7 separate regions of the Homo sapiens genome follow, and all the other regions are linked to region 5. The links are contacts of gene promoters, found by promoter capture Hi-C in blood cells and fetal thymus (Javierre and others, 2016). All regions are on one chromosome and are shown on one strand. The core of a region is centred on a gene start or on the middle of the fragment in contact, and the rest is flanking DNA. Distances in the headings are between cores, read along the strand shown.

Region 1 (2,855 bases), core at 66-2,565, 410 kb before region 5:
GACTGTTTTTCTTTTTTTGTTTTTCTTGAGGCATGGGGAATAAGGAAGGGAGTTGATGGAAGCAGTTTCAGGAAGATGGGCCCTGGCATCCTCTGCAAGGGACACATGATTAAAGTCAGCACAGTGGGATAAGCCCTGGGTGAGGGGGCAGAAGACCTAGGTGGGCACCCTGGCTCTGCCAGTCACACAGGATCTATGACCCTGAGGATGTTGCCTCCCTGCTCTGAACTTCAGTTTGCTGCCAGTGAAATGGGGACAATCAGATTGCAGTGTGTTCATGAGGATTAAAGGCAGTAATGTTTATTAAGGTGATGCACGTAAAGATGTTTTGCAAACTATAAATAAAGATGCATGCTCTTTCCCTTAGGATCCCCTTCGAGATGAACTATCTCTCTGACCCCTTCTGTGTCCCTCACCCACCCCAGGGCAGCACATTCACTTTCCATAACCTCTATTCAGGTTTTCTTTTTCTTTTTTTCATTTTGAAAGCAGGAACTGTTTATTAATTGACCAGATTAGAAAAATAATCAAGGTAGCCGGGCACAGTGGCTCATGCCTGTAATTCCAGCACTTTGGGAGGCCGAGGTGGGCGGATTACAAGGTCAGGAGTTTGAGACCAGCCTCGTCTCTACTAAAAATACAAAAAATTAGTTGGGTGTAGTGGCAGGTGTAGTGGCAGCTACTCAGGAGGCTGAGGCAGGAGAATCGCTTGAACCCAGGAGGCAGAGGTTGCAGTGAGCCGAGACCATGCCACTACACTCCAGCCTGGGCAGCAGAGTGAGACTCTATCTCAAAAAAAAAAAAAAAATTATGGTGGACCCTTAGTTCATCCTTCTAATAAGCCTATTGATGTAGTCTTCCCTGTTGCCAACATTCATTTTCTACAAAATGGGTGGTCTTTTTCTTCATTCCACCTCATGGAGAGGATAATTTGAAGGGCCACAGGAAGTTATTTGCTTTTTTGAAGAGTTTTCCAACAGTATAGATCTCATGAATCAGAACCTCCATGCAGATGATGCTGTATTTACCAAGAGGTCAAGCAATCAAAGTGTTCTCTGTCAAGGCAGCTCACTTCTTATTAATTTTGTCATAACCACACTTACAGATTAGTTCATTTACTGACTTCATATTTGGGTACCCCCATGCAATATATGGTTCTACAATCCTCAGCATGTTAGTGGAAGCCTTGTTGAGCTTCACAAAGCTTCCATTGAAGATTTGACAAAGGTGAAAAAGTTGCAATACCTTTTGGTCCTGTGGGCTCACACATTGATACCTCTGATTCTGATGACCGCCAACTTGGTTGGGTTCTGCAGGTACATAGAGGTTGCCAGCTTTGCTTGCCATCTGAGCCAGTTGAATCTCAGTTCTATCTATCTGCCTATATTCCTTGTGATAGTGCTTCACTTTTCCATAGATAAGCTTCCTCCTCGCCTTTCTTTCTTTCTTTTTTTTTTTTGAGACAGAGTTTTGCTCTTGTTTTCCAGGCTAGAGTGCAATGAATGGTGTGCTCTTGGCTTACTGCAACTTCTGCCTCCTGAGTTCAGGCAATTCTCATGCCTCAGCCTCCCGAGTAGCTGGGATCACAGGTGCCTGCTACCACGCCCGGCTAATTTTTGTATTTTTAGTAGAGATGAGGTTTCTCCATGTTGGCTAGGCTGGTCTTGAACTCCTGACCTCAGGTGATCGGCCCTCCCAAAGTGCTGGGATTACAGGTGTGAGTCACTGAGCTTGGCTCTCCTTGCCTTTTGAAGTATCGTTTGGGCAAACTTCTTTCTCAGGCAGGCAAAATAATATGGAAAAAAGCTCAGGTTTTTCCAGGACACCTCCATGGTTCCAGCCAGGAAAGAGCTCCATTCAGGTTTTCCTCCTCATGTCTGTATTGGGTTTCAGTTTCCAAAGCACTCAGGAAGGCTCTGCCTTGTTTGATCCACACATGTGCCCTGTGAGGCCGATTAAAACCCCATTTTATAGGCCCCGGAGGGGCAGACTCTCAGGGTTGCCTAGCTATTTGGTGGCCGCATGGATCAGAACAAAGGGCTCTAAACCTGAGCTTTTTCCAGATTATTTTTCCTGCCCAGATGCTTCTAACTTAGGAGAAACTTGCAGGCTTGGAGGAGAGGACCCGAGTGGGACCATGCTAGTTGGGCCTGCCTTGGGGTGGAGAGGGACAGTCACCACCTTTGCTCCTGCGGGTCTCTTTATCCAGGCTCCTGGCGCCCCCTGGAGGGCATTGTGGGGAGTGTCCAGCCAAACACCCCGCAGTGCCACCGTCTCCTGGCTTCCAGGTGGTCCCCTGACACTACATTTCCTTCCAGCTCCGTCTACTTTTGGGTATTTATTAAAACAGTAAGACTTGTGAAATTAAATAATTCAAACTTAAAGGTGTTGGAACTTAAATTATTTTGAGCCTTGAGTGGAGGATAACTATGTGGCCCGTGCCACACACATGCAGCTGTGACTTCCTCCTTTTCCTGTAAAAGATTAGAAATAACCAAATAGTGTCAGAGATAAGACTCCCTCAGATCATTACCCCTCCTCATGGAATGTTAACGCAATCTTCTCTGGAATGTAGCAAGCTGTAATCAATCAAATCGGTGTGACCTATGCACGGGCTTTGTATGGAAAATGTGGAACTCTGTTAGACTTCCCTGTTTCTGCCTATAGAAGTAAAACCCTGGGAACACTGACTCCATTCCTTTGAAGTCTGTCTTTTCTGGGAGGCCATCTGGGTGGCTAGCCTCTAACTTTTGTTTTTTTGTTTTAGAAACAGGGTCTCACTTTTTCATCCAGGCTGGAGTGCAGTGGCTCAGTCTCAGCTCACTGCAGCCTCTACCTCCTGGGCTCAGGCAATC
Region 2 (3,254 bases), core at 473-2,972, 390 kb before region 5:
TTTCACCATATTGGTTAGGCTGGTCTTGAACTCATGATCTCAGGTGATCCACCCACCTCGGCCTCCCAAAGTGCTGGGATTACAGGTGTGAACCGCTGTGCCAAGCCCCCCTCTACATCTTTAAAACTACAAACTTTCTGCCGGGAGTGGTGGCTCATGCCTGTAATCCCAGCAGTTTGGGAGGCTGAGGTGGGCGGATCACCTGAGGTTGGGAGTTGAAGACCAGCCTGACCAACATGGAGAAACCCCATCTCTACTAAAAATACAAAATTAGCCGGGCGTGGTGGCACATGCCTGTAATCCCAGCTACTCCAGAGGCTGAGGCAGGAGAATTGCTTGAACCCGGGAGACAGAGGTTGCGGTGAGCCAAGATCGTGTCAATACTCCAGCCTGGGCAACAAGAGCGAAAACTCCATCTCAAAACAGACAAACAAACAACAGAAAAACAAAACAAAACAAAACAATAAAAAACCAACCAAACAACAACAAAAAAACCCTATAAACTTTGACTTTAAGAAGCCAGGCAGTGGGTGAGACCTGCCTGTTCTACCCCCTCTGCTTCCCCACCCAACATCAGCCTTCCTCAGTTCTCCCTCTCTCTGCCCCTTCTTCACCCACAAGCTTCAGCTGGCAGGGCTCGCTGGGCTTTCAAGCCACCTTAGCAGGCAGAGTCATTGGAACAATGGATCAGGCTGACTCAGGAGCTGGGAGAGGGCCCTGGGCCATACAAGCACCCTCCCCACCTGTCAGGTCAGGCCAGCAAGCAGTGCCTCTGGGGCCAAGGGAAACTGGGCTGATGTTGCAGCAGAAAGGAGTGAGGTTAGACCTGAGAGCTTCCTGATGGTAAAGGAGGCTGCAGCAGGTCAGGGAGGTCACAGAGCCCGTGTTCTTTCCTGGAGGGCAACAGGTGCACTCCACTCTCCCCTAGACGGGATTATTCGTTGCCATCTGAAGCACCCGGCACAGTGCTTGGCACTGAGAAGTGCCCAGTCAATGTCGATGGGTGGATAATAGTATGAATGAGCTTGTCTGAAGTGGGGTGTTGAGGTCCCCCTCCCTGTGTCTCCATCCTAGTCTCAGGGTTTGTTCCAGGCTGTCCATATTGCAAGATGAAATGAGTCCTGGCCTAGTGGGCTCTAGTCCCATCCTTTTTATGTGTCCTTGGCCTGTTGCTTTTCCTCTCTGGGCTTCAGTTTCTTGTGCAGTGAGACAGCGTGTTGGACGAGATGATCTGCAAGATCTCACTGCTCTGCCATTCTGCACTGGCAAGTGTTACGCCCCTGTGGGATGCTTTTGCTGTTGGCTTGCTCTAGGTGTGTGTTACTTTGGTCTTTTTTTTTTTTTTGAGACAGAGTCTTGCTCTGTCACCCAGGCTGGAGTGCAATGGCGCAATCTTGGCTCACGCAACCTCCGCCTCCCGAGTTCAAGCAATTCTCCTGCCTCAGCCTCCCAAGTAGCTGGGACTACAGGCATGTGCCACCACACCTGGCTAATTTTTGTATTTTTAGTAGAGATGGGCTTTCGCCATGTTGGTCAGGCTGGTCTCGAACTCCTGACCTCGTGATCGGTTCACCTTGGCCTCCCAAAGTGCTGGTATTACAGGCGTGAGCCACCATGCCCAGCCTACTTTGGTCTTCTTAACTAGAGTCTACGTTTCCCAAGGGCAGGCATGAATCTGGTATTGTTCTGTGTTGCCCCAGCACCTGCAGCGCTGGGCCCTCCTGCCTGGCTGTGCCCAGCATGCCGCTGTTTGTGCCCCCGAGCCCAGCTCACTCCACCCTCCCTAGCCCCGACCAGCTGTGTCACTGTCATGACCCAGAAAAGGTGGTTACCTGGAGGAGGGACCTGTGGGTTTTCCTTTTGAGGAGTAGGTGGGCTTCAGGGAAGAGCACATCAGCGGGTTTAGGGATTAGATTAGATATTAAGAGAATTTCCTCTCCCTTCCAGGATAGATTGGGAGAGATGCCTCAGTTTCTTGTTTCCCTTTTCTAACTCTGCTTTTCATTACTTCTCTCCTTTGGAAAAGTTTCCCAGACTAAACCTCTATGTTCTATCCCCAAGTCCTGACACCTAACGCTGCTCCTGTTTCTGGTCTTATTTTCTTGGGTTTGTGTGTGTTTGGGTGTGGGTACCACTTCCTCTGTCAGGGAATTTCTGAAACTTTTTTTGAACAGTGATCTCTAATAATAAATTCATTTTATATTACAGTTCTGCATGCGCGCACACACACACACACCCCAAACAAAATTTCATGGTGCAATATTACCCTTACTACCTGTGATGCACACTCATGTGCTGGTAAAGACTCATGCAATTGATTTCACAATCCACTAGTGGGTTGTAGCTTGCAGTTTTGAAAATACAGATCTCCTCTCAGATGGAAGTTCCTTGAAGACGGGCAGAACCTTACTTCCAACACCCAGGGCACAGCACTCAGATGGCCATGGGAGAGATGCTGGCGAGATGGTTGAGTGGGAGGGAGCTGGTCCATGTAATCCCCCACCCTGTCTCCCAGTCCGGGAGTTCCTGCTGCAGCTTCGACTGAACATCCTCAGGGTGTAAGAATCTTGGCAACTTTCCCCTGGAAGTTGCTCTTCACCCTCTGGGGTATTGGGAGGCTGTCCTTAGTAACAGGCCTCATAATATTTGCCAAATCAGGAGCTGTTGCTAGCAGCAGGGCACCCAACTGGCTGAACCTGATTGGGTCAGGGTTGCAGTGGCTGGGTACTAAGCCCTGGATGGGTGTGTCTGGACTCTCAACTCAAGTTCTTGTCTGAACACTTCCCTCTTCCCCTCTCAGGGTCCCCCAGAGTTGGAAGCTTTGTCCAATCCCCTTCCTCTCTCAGGCACCAGCAGTTTGTTCCTGGATGTGTGTTCCTGACTCCCAGCCTGGGACAGTCTCCCTTTCTTCACCCCTGGCCCATGGTGTGCTGGGCCTGCTTGAGCAAACTCAGGAGACCTGATTGTGTGCATCTCTTCCCAGCTCTGCATTCAGTGACATCATGGTGGCAGCTTGAAATCAGCCATGGAATATTTGCACCACGGAAAATGGCAAACACTACAGAACAGACTTATCTTCCCTCCCTGACAGAGAGCCCCTTGTGTAACAATAACACGCCACTGCCCCATCCCTGAGCAGAGTGCTGTGTGTTGCAGCAGAGTGGGAGCGGGTGTCCTCTCCCTTGGGCTCTCCCCATAGCCCCCAGCACCAGGGAAGCTTCTGGTCTCTTTGTTATACAGGAAACATGTACATA
Region 3 (3,286 bases), core at 444-2,943, 330 kb before region 5:
GGGGTAGCACCATTTCAATGCTGATCCTGGAATAAACCTGGAGGGAAGGGGTTTAAGTCTGCAGGTGGGGGGCATTTGATAGGTGTGAGAGAAGCAGGCCAGGGGTCTCTGCTGAATATAGAGCAAGAAGTTATGGAGCTTATGAGAGTGCTTATACTCTGTGTCTAGCAAGGCCTCCCTATTTTCATGAAATTCCATGCATGGGGCTAAATCTCACTGGCCCAACAAGGCTTTCAGGAACCTGTTCCAAGAATCAACAAGGTCACGGTTGTTGGAGGGAGGTGTGCATGTGTGTCATTCTCCTAGAGTTTTCATGAGCTGCTCACTTCCCCAGCTCCTCAGGGGTGCCTGGGGTTATGTCTGTGGTGCTGTCCCTGAGTGGCGAAGAATGTTGGAGGTGGAGCAGGTCTTCTGGAGCAGGAGTGGAGGGAGCTGTCTAATTACAGAAGCGGGGAGAGGACAGTCAGAGGTGGGGGTCTGGGTAGATTTGGGGACACCCTTTTTCTATATTGGACCAATTCCAAGTACCTGGAGCAGCACAGTCTCCCCTCTTCCAAAGATTTCCCAGCTCCTGCTCTGCAGTCTGACTCGAATCAGTTTGCTGCAGATGCAGAATGCACTCTCTGCCTTGGCCACCCTACTGTGCCTCCCACCCTTGACTGCCGCAGAGTTCATTCAGACTCCAGTTCCTCCAGCCCTGTGTCCATGGGGCCTCATGGTGTGCAGGCAGAAAGGCACGTCGTTTGCCCAAGACCAGTCCTTGCCCATGGGAGTCTCGTGCAGATCCAAGGTAGGCTCAGGGTTGTTCTGCCTTTGGGAAAGCGGGGACAGAGTAGCAAAGGGTTAATCTCAGGGGCTTGTGCTCTCTGGGCAGGGGACTTTGCCAGGAGCAACCTGGGCTCTGTCCTTCATCAGCCTGGCCCTAATATCCCCATTGTCTTAGGGCTCATTGAGCCCCATGTGTCAGAACAGGAAGTCTCTGCAGCTGCATTTGGTGGCTTTGGCTTCTTCCAAGGGCTGCACTCCTCCCCTGGCAAAATGCAGATGGGCTCTTTTTTTTTTTTTTTTTTGAGTTTCTGGGAGTGGTGAGGAGGAGTTAAAGGTTGGAACTAGGGGTGGAGCTTCTCAGGTTCACCCACCAGGAGGCTGCAGGTTGTGTTGGGCCTCACAGAGAGGCAAGGGGCAGGTTAAAGCATTTCTCATGCCCCCTGAGTGTGGGAGCAGCCAGCCTGAGCAGCCCTCCGTGCCTCTCAGCATCTCTTTGGTTGAACTCAGTGATTTACACTGCAAGGTCAGGCCGTAGATTATACGCGTGTATGTGCATCTTAGAATAAATGTGTTTGTATTCATAGGCACATGGCTATGTGAGTGTGTCAGCGTTTCTTATTTATATAAAAAGTCTCTTAGGTCGGGCACGGTGGCTCACACCTGTAATCCCAGCATTTTGGGAGGCCAAGGGGGGCGGATCATGAGGTCAACAGATCGAGACCATCCTGGCCAACATGGTGAAATCTCGTCTCTATTAAAAATACAAAAATTAGCCTGGTGTGGTGGCAGGCGCCTATAATCCCAGCTACTCGGGAGGCTGAGGCAGGAGAATCCCTTGAACCCAGGAAGCAGAGGTTGCAGTGAGCCGAGATCACACCACTGCACTCCAGCCTGGCGACAGAGTGAGACTCTGTCTCAAAAAAAAGTCTTCTATTTTACATAAAAAGGAAAAGCCCTCATGTTGGTCTCTGTTTCTAGAACAGTCCAGGAGAGTGGATCCTGGCCTTGATTCATATGTTTGAAACTGGCTGGCTAGTCAGAGGGGATTATTTGGGGTAAATATACTGCTGAGATAATAGACACCACCCTTCTCTCTGATCCTTCGAATTGGATTCTGGCCAGCTCCTAGTGCTTAGGAAACAGGGAGACATGGCTTGCATTATTTACCCCGTTGGAGGCCCCATGCTCTCCCTTTTCTTTTAAATCCTTTACCTCTAAGTATACGGAAATCACTTTTCACATCTGAAGAGCCCAACTGCAGGTTGGCAAATCTCTAACTTGGTTTATTTGGCTCATCTGCCCTGACTCCATTCCCCAAGATCTTGGCTCCCAGCCCTGGCTGCAGCCCCACCATCACTTTGGCTCAGGCACCTGTCAACTCCTGAACAACTGCTATGTTTGCATAGATCCCTCCCACCTCACCAAGACCCTCCGCTCTGGGTTCAGCCCTCTCAGTTCCAGAAAGTTCTCACCAATACTTCTGAAGTCTCCCTACCTCGTTGCTAGTAAACCCAGAAGGTTATAGCAAAGAGGGGCTTATTTCATGTCCCACTGTGGGGTTTTGTTTTAACTTGCTGACGGGGCCCAGGCTTTGTGTTCTAAGACCAGAGGACCTCAGAATAAGGCATGGCTGCTCCCATGTCTTGGGTGGATGTTCAGGGTTTAGTGAGACAGCTACGTGGGGAAATAGTTGAGGGGGCTGTGCCCCCTTTGTGGGCCCTCAGGACATGGTAACAGTGGGCCAACGAGGGACAAAGGGAGGGAGCAGGCTGAAAGGAAAAAAGCCATTTTAGCACCTGTTCCATTTTTTTTCCCGTGTTGATGGTAGGGTCTGAACAGTCATCTCGTTATTCCACTAAGAGGGCTGGGAGTGTAGAGTTGTGGCCATGAAGGGTCTTGGTGGTGGGAGCCCCAGGACTCAGGCTCATTGCTGCCCATGGTTTTCTGGTTTGGCTTTGGGTCAAGGTAGGATTGTTCTGCATCTGCAGTTTTTTTACTTTGAGTGTTGTGGATTTGATCCTTAAAAATTCGAGAAAGTGGGTGAGAAGCTAGATAAGCTGGGAAGACATTTTCTGGAGAAAGTGTTTGGACTGTCATTTGCCATCCACCCATTCATCCATCTACTCATCCATCCGTCCATCCATCCATCCATCCATCCATCCATCTATGATCCATCCATCATCCATCTATTCATCCATCCATCCACCCAGCCATTCACTCATTTACTCAACAAACCACTAGTCTATAAATTATTTATGGGCAGGAACCATGACTTTATTCATCTTGACATTCCAGGGCCACTGTGCTTGCCATATAGTAGCTGTTTAACAAATGTTAATTGAACAATGTTTACCAAGTGCCTAGTTTGTGCTGGGCAATGGGGACCCATTATACAAAGAAGAATTAGACTCTGTTTTCAAGGAGCTTTTAATACAGATGATAATGTCTAGATAAAAGCATGCACATAAAGAACTTGGTAACCAGACAGACAGATGAATGCCTTTGGAAGTTACAAATG
Region 4 (2,898 bases), core at 80-2,579, 470 kb before region 5:
CACATTTGGCTGTGTTCTTTGCTCTGGAGTGGACCTATTGATTCTTATCGAGCTACCAGCTGAGGGGGAAGGGGAGGACAAATAGTAGGGCAGACCTGGGAGAGAAGGGACCCTGGAAAAGCCTGGCCAGTGGACCTGCCAGGTGGGAGGCAGAGCACAGATAAAGAGCCTGAGCCTGGATTGTTCCTGATCTGTCACCTAATGGTGGGGAGAGCCCCACAGTGCTCAATGGGAGCCAGCCAGGGGGCAGTCAGGGTGGAAGCTGGCCAGGGGAGGGTCGGGGCCTGCTGAAGGCTGGGAGGCAAACGGGATGCAAAATAACATACAAATGAATGCCCACTGGTTTTGCATACAAGGCTTCTGGGAGGTAAGAGGTTCCAGTCAGAGGGGTCTCTCCTGCTTTCACCTTTATATTCCCCCACTGGATTCCAGAACTGTCAAGTTGGGCAGTATTTTATAATAAAGTATGTGGAGTCAACAAGCTACGTACTGCCTTTTACTGTTATTGCTAAGCTTTAAGTCAGCCAGCCTGGATACTTTGCTAGCTGTGTAACCTTGGGGAAGTCACCTAACTCTGAACTTCAATTTCTTCACTTGTACAGGGAAAACAGTAAGACCTGTCCAGTCTATTTCCTCAGGTGGCAGTGAATGTGAGTGTAAATTGTCACTCACTCATTCATCAAACAAATACTAATTATTTGTACTGGAGCCTTCCTTCAAAGTAAGGAAGGCTTCAATATATACAGGAGGGCAGATAAAGGGGGTCAATTTAATTCGAAAGACGGGCTCAAGGGGTTTGAAGTCTGTCTCTCTGAGTCATTTAAAAACCCTGGGGCACTTTGAAATCTACCAGCAATCAAAACAGATTCTAGAATTTTTCTCCAAGCTAATTCCCAGGTCCTTGTCTGATTCCTGCCCCACCCCAACTGCTAGGAAACTTCTGGGACCTGTGGAGGTGCAGCGTGGGGGCTGGAGAGGGAGAGCTGCCAGCTAGACTTTATCTCTCCTACTGATGTCGATGGCCACATTCCTGACTTCTTGCAGCATGGGGCAAATACCGACCTCGGGCTTCCAGCACCAGCCTGCCCCTTTCCACCACTTCCAGATTCCTCTGTGGCTCAGGGCTTTTTCACTTTGTCAGAGAGCCTCTTGGAGAGCTGGGGTGAAGGTCTCGGCCTCCAGATTCCCAGCACTAGGGTTCTGGGGTGGGGGTGGGAAGCAAGGTGGAAAGGGGGATGGCGTGATTGTGAGGACAGTCCCGGGAAAGGGTGGAGCAGGAGGGGCCCTGGTGAGAAGCTCCCAGAACAGACACAAAGAGTAATGAGCCTCGGCAGGGGGGAATCCGGAAAGAGGGGAAATGGTTCTCCACCCACCATCAGTCCTGCATTCCAGCGTCCAGCAGAAGGGGAGTGGGAACCTGTGAGGCAGGTTTAACTTCAGAGTAGACTCAGAGATGACCCGATAGGGGTGGGTCAGCTCTTACTGCCCACTCCACATTCTCCCACAAAGGGCTTGAGCTGATGGCTCTGGGGAAACTAGGTGGTGGAGAGATGAGAGGATTAGGGAGGATTGGAAGGCCTGCAGTCCTTCCGCCTTTGCTTTAACATTTAGGCTGGAAATTCCTTGCTCAGCCTGGAGGAGGGAGGTGTTCGGAACAGCAACTGAGGTGTAAGGATGGGGTCTATACACAAAACAGGGAGAGACTGATTCCCATCCTCTTCTTTAAAGACTGAGGGTGACTCCAGTGTGTTGGAGACAGTGAGAAGGCCCTGTGGTGGGGTGGGCTGGAGGGAGGAAGGGATCGCCTGGGAGGCTCCCCTGGGCTCCTTTCAGCTACTCTCAGTGGAGGGTATACCCATGCAGGGGGCCCTCCCACAGGAGAAATCCCAGGGCTGCTGAGTTAAGGGTAGAGCTGTTGAGACAGAGGGAGATCTGGGGTAGAACCCAAAGGAAAAGGAATCTGGGGTGGAATGGGAATCCTCCTGCCCAGCCCTGCATCTGGCACATAGGTGGAGCTCCGTAAATACTTTAGGTTTAAGTAATTAATAAACATGGGGTGCTAGGAGAGGTCAGTGGGGGTCATCAGAAAGTGCAGTCAGGTAGACTGCAGAGAGACAAGAGGTGGGGGCAAGGGTACAAGCTTCAGAGGCAGCTGCGGAGCAGGGGGAGGATGCGGGTGGCAGCTGGGTGCAGGACCCAGTCTGATATCAAGACTTCTGGAATTTCAGCACCCTATTTGGAGTCCCTGGCACTGCCTGTGGAGGTGGGAACGGGTTCTCAGGGCTTGGGCCAGGCCCTCTTCCCCAGGGGTGGGAGAGTCGAGGAATGCCCTGACACTTAGTATCATTGCTTCGGTTGGGTTTGTGCCCTAGGGGTTATTTTCCAAGGATAAAGGAAGAGGAAGGGTCAGCGCTGAGAAGCGTGTGGCTGCCCAGAAACCTCCAGGCGCTGAAGCTCAGAGAAGTCGGGGAACCTGGCCCTTCTAGGAGCCCCTCAGCTCCCTGGCCCAGCCCCACCAGGAATGGCCTTGCCTGTGCTTATGTCCTTTGCCCATTCTGACCCTGGTGCTGTTGGCTTCTCCTCAGGTGCAACCCCAGTATCCCAATGCCATATCCCCCAGCCTATCGCCTCACTCAAATCTGCCCAGAGATTAGGGGAGGGCAAAGGGATGAATAGGGCACTTGGTGTCAAAAGACCTGGATTCGGCCAGGTGGCTCATGCCTGTAATCCCAGCACTTTGAGAGGTTGAGGTGGGAGAATCGCTTATGGCCAGGAATTTGAGACCAGCCTGGGCAGTATAACAAGACCCTGTCTCTATGAAATAATAAAATATTTCAATATTTCACAATATTCCCCACTGCTGGCTTAGTGATCTTGAGCAGCCTTTACTAGCTTGGT
Region 5 (2,895 bases), core at 335-2,834:
ATTTTTGTATTTTTAGTGGAGATGGGGTTTCACCATGTTGGCCAGGCTGGTCTAAAACTCCTGACTTCAGGTGATTCGCCCCCCTCGGCCTCCAAAAAGTGCTGGGATTACAGGCGTGAGCCACTGCGCCCGGCCAATTTTCAGTATTTAAATAGGCATTCTACTACATCCACATCTGGAAAGTCTAAGTATATGAGAGTCTTATTAAGCTTCAAGTTTTAATGATCAGTTTGCAGGAAATATAGAGGACACAGTAGCATCTTAAATGAAACACTGTGAGTAAGCAATGAGGAAATCCCAAAGACTGAAACACTACTCAGGACAATTAACCTGGTCTTATCAACAAAAGAATTGTAAACAATAAGGAAATAAATGAAAAAGGACATTGGAGAATTGAATAGACACATTGATGTTAATAAATACACAAATTGGCTGGGAGCAGTGGCTCATGCCTGTAATCCCAGCACTTTTGGAGGCTGAGCCAGGTGGATCACCTGAGGTCAGGAGTTCGAGACCAGCCTGGCCAACATGGCGAAACACCATCTCTACTAAAAATACAAAAAATTAGCCGTGCTTGATGGTGGCCACCTGTAATCTCAAACTACTCAGGAGGCTGAGGTGAGAGAATCTCTTGAACCTGGGAGGCGGAGGTTGCAGTGAACCTAGATCGCACCACTGGACTCCAGCCTGGGTGACAGAGAGAGACTCTATCTCAAAAAAAAAAGAAAAAAAATTACCCTTCCCCACTGTCCCCTCTACACCCCCTCTCTATGCTCTTTTCTTCCTAGTAAAGCATTACTTTCTTTCTAGCTCAGTGATGCCACTGGATGTGATGTCTTCTATCTCCTTTTGTGTTGTCATCTTTATTAGAGTCAACTCCTTGAGGGCGAAGACTTAATAAATACATACATTTTTAAAATACAAAATAATATTTCAGTTATATTTCTAAAAGGTCTATCATTTAAAGATTAATATTGAATTAATATTGAATTAAATCCCAAATATTTTTGGGATTTAAAAAAATTTAACATTGATAAGGGAACCGGGTGGAAATATACAAGAAATAAGACTGGCCATAAGGTAATCATCATGGAAACAGGTAATAGGTATATACAGGCCCATTGTGTTCTGCTCCTCTACATGTTTGAAATTGCACACAGAAGGAAAAATAATTACAGGAAAAATGTTAATATTTCTGTTAAGGCATTTGCAATACAGTGCTTGTGATCTCCAACATCTCTGCTGGAAGAAAGTCAGGCTGGAAAGAGGAAAGCACTCACAGCATGTTGATAAACAGCCTAGCATGCAGAACCTTTGCTGAAGACAGTGACTAACTTCAACTTCATGAACTGAGAATGCTCTTACTGTGCTGAAATCTCGAGTCAAAGCTGGAGGCAGGAACATTTTCCCTGACTAAAGGAAGTGAAAAATGCCATCTCAGCATTTCATAACTTTTCTGATCCAGGTGTGATCTCACTATTTGTAAAGCCCAGCCCTTCCCAACCTGCAAGCTCACCTTCCAGGACTGGGCCCAGCCCATGCTCTCTCATAATATATAAGCTACTGCTGGAGCCCGATTCCTTGTCCTGCTTCTCCTGCCTCTCGCCTCCAGCCTCCAACGCTCGCCACAGCCCTCTCATCTCCTGGAACCATGGCCAGCACATCCACCACCATCAGGAGCCACAGCAGCAGCCGCCGGGGTTTCAGTGCCAACTCAGCCAGGCTCCCTGGGGTCAGCCGCTCTGGCTTCAGCAGCATCTCCGTGTCCCGCTCCAGGGGCAGTGGTGGCCTGGGTGGTGCATGTGGAGGAGCTGGCTTTGGCAGCCGCAGTCTGTATGGCCTGGGGGGCTCCAAGAGGATCTCCATTGGAGGGGGCAGCTGTGCCATCAGTGGCGGCTATGGCAGCAGAGCCGGAGGCAGCTATGGCTTTGGTGGCGCCGGGAGTGGATTTGGTTTCGGTGGTGGAGCCGGCATTGGCTTTGGTCTGGGTGGTGGAGCCGGCCTTGCTGGTGGCTTTGGGGGCCCTGGCTTCCCTGTGTGCCCCCCTGGAGGCATCCAAGAGGTCACCGTCAACCAGAGTCTCCTGACTCCCCTCAACCTGCAAATTGACCCCGCCATCCAGCGGGTGCGGGCCGAGGAGCGTGAGCAGATCAAGACCCTCAACAACAAGTTTGCCTCCTTCATCGACAAGGTGAGCCAGTGCCATGCCCTCCATCGGGCACTTCAGGGTCCCCAGACCAGAAGAGCAACACCTTCCTGCTAGGGAGACCTAGGAGGGAGGGAGAAGGGGATTCAGCCCAGCTCTGCAGAGAGTGCAGGTGGCTCTCGGTGCACAGGAGGCAGCACAGATGGGCATCACTCCCCCATGGGATCTCTGGAGTGGCCCTCACTCCTGCCTAGGGAGAGCCGTAACTTTTCATAACCCTGAAGCACAGATGAGGCCATCAGAGAGTGGAGTAGGTTAATTCTCCCCTCTGAAGTGTTTAAGAGATTACAAAGCAAATGCCAGGAGTATATGGGCTGGTAAATTACACTCTGGGGTCTGGGTAAGAGGAAAAAGATTTAGAAAGAAAAGGAAAAGATAATCTGGCTGGATTAAGAAAAAAAGGGACATAGAAACAACTGTAAAACATGGATAAATGCTAATTAATTTTAAAAACAGAGAATGACCATAACATCAGAATATTTGAGAGGAGACACTAAATGGGAAAGTAGACTGAAATGTAATCATGAGTCAACATATAATATCTCTCCTAACTAAGATCCTATCAGTAAAAAAACTGTGTACAATATATCAGGTAATTAGTATTTTTAAACTAGATTTGTGATTGTGCCTGGAAAAAGAAGAGAAGAAATGTTGAAACTCACTGATGATCAATAGCTTACAGCGTGAGA
Region 6 (2,838 bases), core at 150-2,649, 450 kb before region 5:
ACAAAGAGAGAGGAAGGAGGGGCCCTGGGCCTGTGCACTGCATAAGTGAAGAGGGAGTTTGTGCAGGAGCTGGCAGTCAAGTAGGATAGGGTCAGGCCATGGGGGCCTGGGGGTGGAGGTTTAGTGTGGTGACATGTGGGAGCCATCGAAGCCATAGAACTGTGGGTCCAGGAGGAGGACTAGGGAGTTTGACTTTTGCAGCTGGACAATTGTGAGCAAGAAGTACTGGTCCTCTCCCTCAGAGAGGCTTTCCCTCCTTTGCCTTCCATGTTCTGGAGGCTGCTGTTGCTACTTAAGCTTCTCTTAATGTTCCCTGGATGGTCACCCAGGAAACTTGGGGAGGCAAGGAAGGAGAGAGAAGGTAGAATGTGGCCTTGGGGAATAGATGGCCTCTGCCTGGAGTTCTGTAGGGAATGCATAAACACACAATTAGTTGTGTTGCCATGGGAACTTGACTAACAGGTCCCTGAGGCTAAGCTGGCCTGGGCTGGCCTGGGCTTAGCCCATTCCCACCATCCAGGTCAACAGATTTTCCTAAAGGCCTATGAATGGGTCATTGTATCTGAGTTGGGGTTATCTTAGTCCTTAGAGACCAGGGAATGGGGTGGGGGCAGGTTGGTTACAGAGTGGTGGGTAGCAGGTCTTTTCTTTAGCTGAGCTGCGTGCTCTCTAGAGTCTCTCTGTCTCATTTTCTGTCTTACAGACATATATGCACACATGCAGGGTCTTGCTATGTCGCTGGTTGTCCAGGCTGGTCTTGAACTCCTGGCCTCAAGTGATCTTCCCTTGGCCTTCCAAAGTACTGGGATTACAGGTGTGAGCCACTGTGCCTGGCTGGGCACAGGCTTACCTGGCAGGCTGGTTCAGCCATTTGTGAATTCGTTCATCATATACTGGTGGAGTGCCTGTTAGATGTCTTTCTAATGCTGTGGATGTGACGGTCAACAACATAGTCAAGGTCTCTGCCCTCATGGGGCTGTCCATTTTTAATTTTTTTTCAGATGGAGTTTCGCTCTTGTTGCCCAGGCTGGAGTGCAATGGCACAATCTCAGCTCACCCCAACCTCTGCCCCCTGGGTTCAATCAATTCGCCTGCCTCAGCCTCTTAAGTAGCTGGGATTACAGGCATGTGCCACCATGCCTGGCTAATTTTGTATTTTTAGTAGAGATGGGGTTTCTCCATGTTGGTCAGGCTGGTCTCAAACTCTTGACCTCAGGTGATCTGCCTGCCTTGGCCTCCCAAAGTGCTGGGATTACAGGCGTGAGCCACCGTGCCTGGGCTGGGGCTGTCCATTTTGATGGGGAGAGGTCCCCCAAGTCTGCCAGAATCCCTACTGTAGGAGAGGTAGTACAGATGCTCAATAAATAAATGTAATATAGCTCTTTTGGATTGCTAAATAAAATAATAAACATGTTTTGAATCCTCCCTTTTGAGTTATTGACATTATTACATCTCTTAATGGACATAATTGGATCCTGACTATAAAACAGCATAATTGAAAAGAGAATGTTCAAGCTCTAAAATTACTCCAGACTTGGGTTCAATTCCTGTCTCTGTCACACTAACCAAAGGACCTTGGGCTTTAGTTTCCTTGTCTGTAAAATGAGAACAATGTTACCTTCCTCATGGATTAGTTTAGGATTATAAATAATAGGTGCGGTGGCTCACGCCTGTAATCCCAGCACCTTGGGAGGCCAAGGCAGGCAGATCCCCTGAGGTCAGGAGTTCAAGACTAGCCTGGCCTACATGGTGAAACCCTGTCTCACTAAAAATACTAAAATTATCCGGGCATGGTGGTGCAGGTCTTTAGTCCCAGCTACTTGGGAGGCTGAGGCAGGAGAATAGCTTGAGAACCCAGGAGGTGGAGGTTGCAGTGAGTCAAGATCGTGCCACTGCACTCCAGCCTGGGCAACAGAGCAAGACTCCATCTCAAAATAAAATAGACTAAAATAAAATAAAATAATATATAATATATGTAAGAGATCTGACACTTTGACACTTGGTAGGAACCCTGAAAATGAAAGCCATGGCTGGGCATGGTGGCTCACACCTGTAATCCCAGCACTTTGGGAGGCTGAGGCGAGCAGATCACTTGGGGCCAGCAGTTTGGGACCAGCCTGGTCAACATGGTGAAACCCTGTCTCTACTAAAAATACAAAAACTTAGCAGAGAGTGGTGGTACATGCCTGTAGTCCCAGCTACTTGGGAGGCTGAGACAGGAGAATTGCTTGAACCCGGGAAGCGAAGGTTGCAGTGAGCTGAGGTAGTGCCACTACATGCACTCCAGACTGGGTGACAGAGTGAGACTCTGTCTCAAAAACAAAAAAACAAAAAAGAAACCCATCATGATCACCATGGTTCCCAATCCTAATCACTACCACTGCCACCATCATTGGCAGGGAAAGGAGCCCTGGGTTGAGAGTTGGGGAAAGCAAGTGGGCGTCAGTAGGCAGGGCTCTGTTTGCATGGCTAGCTCCCTAGGAATTGGATTTGCAAGCTTCTGTTTTGCATAATGGCGGATTTTTACATGCTATTTCTTTATTACTATCCTATAAGCTCCTCCTTATAGACCCAATTGCCACCTCCTAGTTACCCTCCACCCTGCTGAGCTAGCACTTTCTTCCACTTGACCACCTACCCTGGGAAGAGGCAGCAGACACTGTTCTGTTCTGCAAGGAGGTTATTTCATGCAGGGAAACACAAGGCTTAAACTCTCACAAGGCAAATGTATCAAAGTGATGTGAACACAAGTTCCATGGGGGAGGGTGGTCTGAAGGTGGTGAGGGAATGGGGGAAATTGTGTGGAGAAAGGCTTTGGGAAAGGCTGGGGGACAAGCA
Region 7 (3,200 bases), core at 612-3,111, 490 kb before region 5:
CACCCCTGCGATCTTGCCCCTGCTGCAGCCAAGAGCAAAGTTTCAGTCTCTGGGACCCCAGCCAGACAACTCAAGGAGAGCCAATGAACTTGTATTTATGCAGTACCTACTAGCTGCCAGGCATGCAGCCAAGCCTTGGGGACTTTGTTCTCATTATTTTCTCACCTTTCCCACTGCACAAGTCTTAGCATCTCTCAGGTTTCACTTCTGCCACAAATCATGGCCATCATCCTCCCCGTGAACACCTGCAGCATTTACTGCCATGACATTCCTTGGCTTTGAATTAACCTCGTGACCTTTCTTGTATCTTTATGTTCTTAGGGCCGAACCTGAGGGTGGGGACCTGGGTCTAAGCTGTCCCACTGGTGGGCACCTTCCCTTCCTTTCCTGAACATTTTTGGAATGTAGGAGTGACCCCAGAGGAGGATTACAAAGCCCTTCTTCAAAGGAGAGGTTGAAAGTGGTGCCCGGGTTCTATAAACATTTGCACTGAGCATTCCTAAATGACAGGGAGATTTATAGTTTGAGTGCCTTCCCATTACGAAGACTGTTTAAGTGACTTGGGAAAGTTTCTTTAAAAAGAAAAAAAAATGGAGCAGATTAAGATGAGATTTTATTTTTCTTTTTTTCCTTAAAAAGAAAAAAAGGCTAGGCGAGGTGGCTCATGTCTGTAATCCAAAGGCTAGGTGAGGTGGCTCATGTCTGTAATCCCAGAACTTTGGGAGGCCGAGGTAGGTGGATCATTTGAGGTCAGGCGTTTGAGACCAGCTTGGCCAACGTGGTGAAATCCTTGTCTCTACTAAAAATACGAAAATTAGCTGGGCGTGGTGGTGCACACCTGTAATCCCAGCTACTGGAGAGGCTGAGGCGGGAGAATCGCTTGAATCTGGGAGGTGGAGGTTGCAGTGAGCTGAGAAGCCGAGACCACGCCACTACACTCCAGCCTGGGTGACAGAGTAAGACTCCGTCTCAAAAAAAAAAAAAAAAACAAATTCTTCCTGGGCTTTCTTAAAGCTGGGGTGTGTGTGAAGCGAAGCTGAGGAAGTTCAATTGTTCTCCCACTAAGTTCTCTTTCCTGGAACAAAGAGGACCTGCAAAGAGAGTGAGAGGACTGCTGGCATCTTGAAATATTCTTCTACTCTCCTTTGTCCTCTTTTCCTTGGGTGAGGCATGCAGAGACTCCTCTTGGTTTGTTATTTGCTCATTTATTTGTTCATTCATTTGCTTATTCATTCAAAAGCTAGTAAGAGAAGATTGTTAAATTTGAAAATTTTGCTTCCCAGAATTAAACCATTTTAAATCAACCATGACAGCAGTATTTATACCTTGGATATTGGCAAATGCTATAGGTTATTAAATAAAATAAAATAACATTTTATTTACAATTTAATAAAAATTACAATTTCAAATTTTTGTCTTTAAAAAAGAAAATAACAACCTGCTGTTTATGTGTTGGAATTGTGTTATGTATCAGGGCATAAGAGTGAACAAGATAGTCCAGTCTCTGCTCAAAGGGAGCTTACAGTCTGGTGCTGCACTGTCCTGTCCAATCTGGTAGCCATTAGCTACTAGCTACTGCTGTGGTTATTAATTTATTTTTTAAAGTTTTTAATTTTGGCTGAGTCTGGTGGCTCATGCCTGTAATCCCAGCGCTTTGGGAGGCCGAGGCAGGTGGATCACCTGAGGTTAGGAGTTCGAGACCAGTCTGGCCAACATGGCGAAACCCCGTCTCTACTCCAAATCCAAAAAAAAAAAAAAAAAAAAAAAATTAGCCAGGTGTGGTGGTGGGCGCCTGTAATCCCAACTACTCGGAAGACTGAGGCAGGAGAATCACTTGAACCTGGGAGGCGGAGGTTGCAGTGAGCCGAGATTGAGCCAGTGCACTCCAGCCTGGGCAACAAGAGTGAAACTCTGTCTCAAAAAAAAAAAAGTTTTTAATTTTTGTGGGTACCCAGTATGTGTATCTATTTTAGGGTACACGAGATATTTTGATACAGGCATACAATGCATAATAATCTCATCAGGGCATCCATCACTTCAAGCATTTATCCTTTATGTTACAAACAATCCAATTATACTCTTTTAGTTATTTTTAAATGTACAATAATTTATTTTTTTTGAGACGGAGTCTTGCTCCATTGCCCAGGCTGGAGTGCAATGGCATGATCTTGGCTCACTGCAACCTCTGCCTCTCGGGTTCAAGCAATTCCCCTGCCTCAGCCTCCCGAGTAGCTGGGATTACAGGCATGCACCACCATGCCTGGCTAATTTTTGTATTTTTAGTAGAGACGGGGTTTTACCATGTTGGTCAGGCACGTCTTGAACTCCTGTCCTTGTGATCTGCCCGCCTCAGCCTTCCAAAGTGCTGGGATTACAGGCATGAGCCACTGCACCCAGCCTTAGGCTGGTGCTTTTTAAACTTTTTTTGCTTCTGGGGAGTGGGTGATAGGGAAAGTTCTGCCAGCCTGGGAGGGGCCCACTAGAGCCTGCTGCTCCAGTGTGGATTGTGGGGAGAGGAAAAGGAACTGTGTGCTTTGGGCCCAGATCACTGGAGTGCCCTGAGTCTCTGAGAAGTTTACCCTACATCCCTCCTGTGGCAGCACCATCCACTTCACCAGGATCTGACCAGGGCCTTCAGGGGGACACAGCCTCCCCGGATCTGAGCATCACTATCATTCTAATTCCTTGGGCTGTTTCTGTGTAGATAATTATTTTCCAGCTCATTCAGGCAGGTGAGGTTGAGGCCAGCAGTGCAGCTAAATCCTTACACCGTGACTGGGGCTGCTTTTATACAGGTTAGGGGAAGAATAATCACTTATGGCTGAAATCTAATGGAAGAGGGAGTTCTGTGTAACTCTAGTGGGCAGAGCTGAGTTTAGAAGGTTAGTAGGAGGCAGATTTCAGCCCAGTAGAAGGAACAATAATGTTCCAGTAATTATACAATTATTATCCAACAGGGGCTATACTGTCATAAATTCTTCAAACGGAGGCCAGATGTTAGGAAGGCCACAAAGAGGATTCCTACTGGGAGAGGCCAAACTTGAACCATCTGTTTATTTATTTTATTTTATTTATTTATTTTTTTGAGAATGGAGTTTCACTCTTGTCACCCAGGCTGGAGTGCAATGGCACAAACTTGGCTCACTGCAACCTCCGCCTCCCGGGTTCAGGTGATTCTTTTGCCTCAGCCTCCCAAGTAG

The links. Contacts are between HindIII fragments. The CHiCAGO score rates a contact against its expected background, and 5 or more counts as called.
Region 1: a contact is called between a fragment that was not itself captured here and the fragment with the promoter of KRT6C in region 5, in 10 of 17 cell types (total CD8 T cells, total CD4 T cells, M1 macrophages and 7 more). The highest score is 9.8, in total CD8 T cells.
Region 2: a fragment that was not itself captured here is called in contact with the fragment with the promoter of KRT6C in region 5 in 1 of 17 cell types (total CD8 T cells); the score reaches 6.2 in total CD8 T cells.
Region 3: a fragment that was not itself captured here is called in contact with the fragment with the promoter of KRT6C in region 5 in 1 of 17 cell types (naive CD4 T cells); the score reaches 5.1 in naive CD4 T cells.
Region 4: a contact is called between a fragment that was not itself captured here and the fragment with the promoter of KRT6C in region 5, in 5 of 17 cell types (M1 macrophages, M0 macrophages, M2 macrophages and 2 more). The highest score is 6.5, in M1 macrophages.
Region 6: a fragment that was not itself captured here is called in contact with the fragment with the promoter of KRT6C in region 5 in 5 of 17 cell types (M1 macrophages, M2 macrophages, M0 macrophages and 2 more); the score reaches 8.0 in M1 macrophages.
Region 7: a fragment that was not itself captured here is called in contact with the fragment with the promoter of KRT6C in region 5 in 6 of 17 cell types (M2 macrophages, M1 macrophages, naive CD8 T cells and 3 more); the score reaches 8.5 in M2 macrophages.

Annotation. Positions count from the first base shown.
Region 1 is chr12:52,884,355-52,887,209 of GRCh38, reverse strand. It overlaps the pseudogene RPL7P41. Among named protein-coding and RNA genes, the nearest start is that of MIR9898, 13 kb to the left of the region's middle. RefSeq lists a silencer at 2,111-2,405. The HindIII fragment of the contact is 218 bases long and covers 1,207-1,424 here.
Region 2 is chr12:52,859,695-52,862,948 of GRCh38, reverse strand. No RefSeq gene overlaps it. Among named protein-coding and RNA genes, the nearest start is that of KRT78, 12 kb to the right of the region's middle. The HindIII fragment of the contact is 2,198 bases long and covers 624-2,821 here.
Region 3 is chr12:52,802,992-52,806,277 of GRCh38, reverse strand. No RefSeq gene overlaps it. Among named protein-coding and RNA genes, the nearest start is that of KRT3, 8.5 kb to the right of the region's middle. The HindIII fragment of the contact is 4,113 bases long and covers 1-3,286 here.
Region 4 is chr12:52,944,197-52,947,094 of GRCh38, reverse strand. It overlaps a transcript of KRT8 not described here. Among named protein-coding and RNA genes, the nearest start is that of KRT18, 3.5 kb to the left of the region's middle. RefSeq lists a silencer at 1-10 and enhancers at 961-1,556, 2,746-2,898. The HindIII fragment of the contact is 1,627 bases long and covers 516-2,142 here.
Region 5 is chr12:52,472,494-52,475,388 of GRCh38, reverse strand. It overlaps KRT6C (keratin 6C), which reads left to right and starts at 1,584. Exons shown (of 9, transcript NM_173086.5): 1 at 1,584-2,191. The coding sequence starts at 1,652. The HindIII fragment of the contact is 8,852 bases long and covers 212-2,895 here.
Region 6 is chr12:52,918,758-52,921,595 of GRCh38, reverse strand. It overlaps a transcript of KRT8 not described here. Among named protein-coding and RNA genes, the nearest start is that of KRT8, 15 kb to the right of the region's middle. RefSeq lists an enhancer at 2,556-2,838. The HindIII fragment of the contact is 2,200 bases long and covers 300-2,499 here.
Region 7 is chr12:52,967,223-52,970,422 of GRCh38, reverse strand. No RefSeq gene overlaps it. Among named protein-coding and RNA genes, the nearest start is that of KRT18, 20 kb to the right of the region's middle. The HindIII fragment of the contact is 7,174 bases long and covers 1-3,200 here.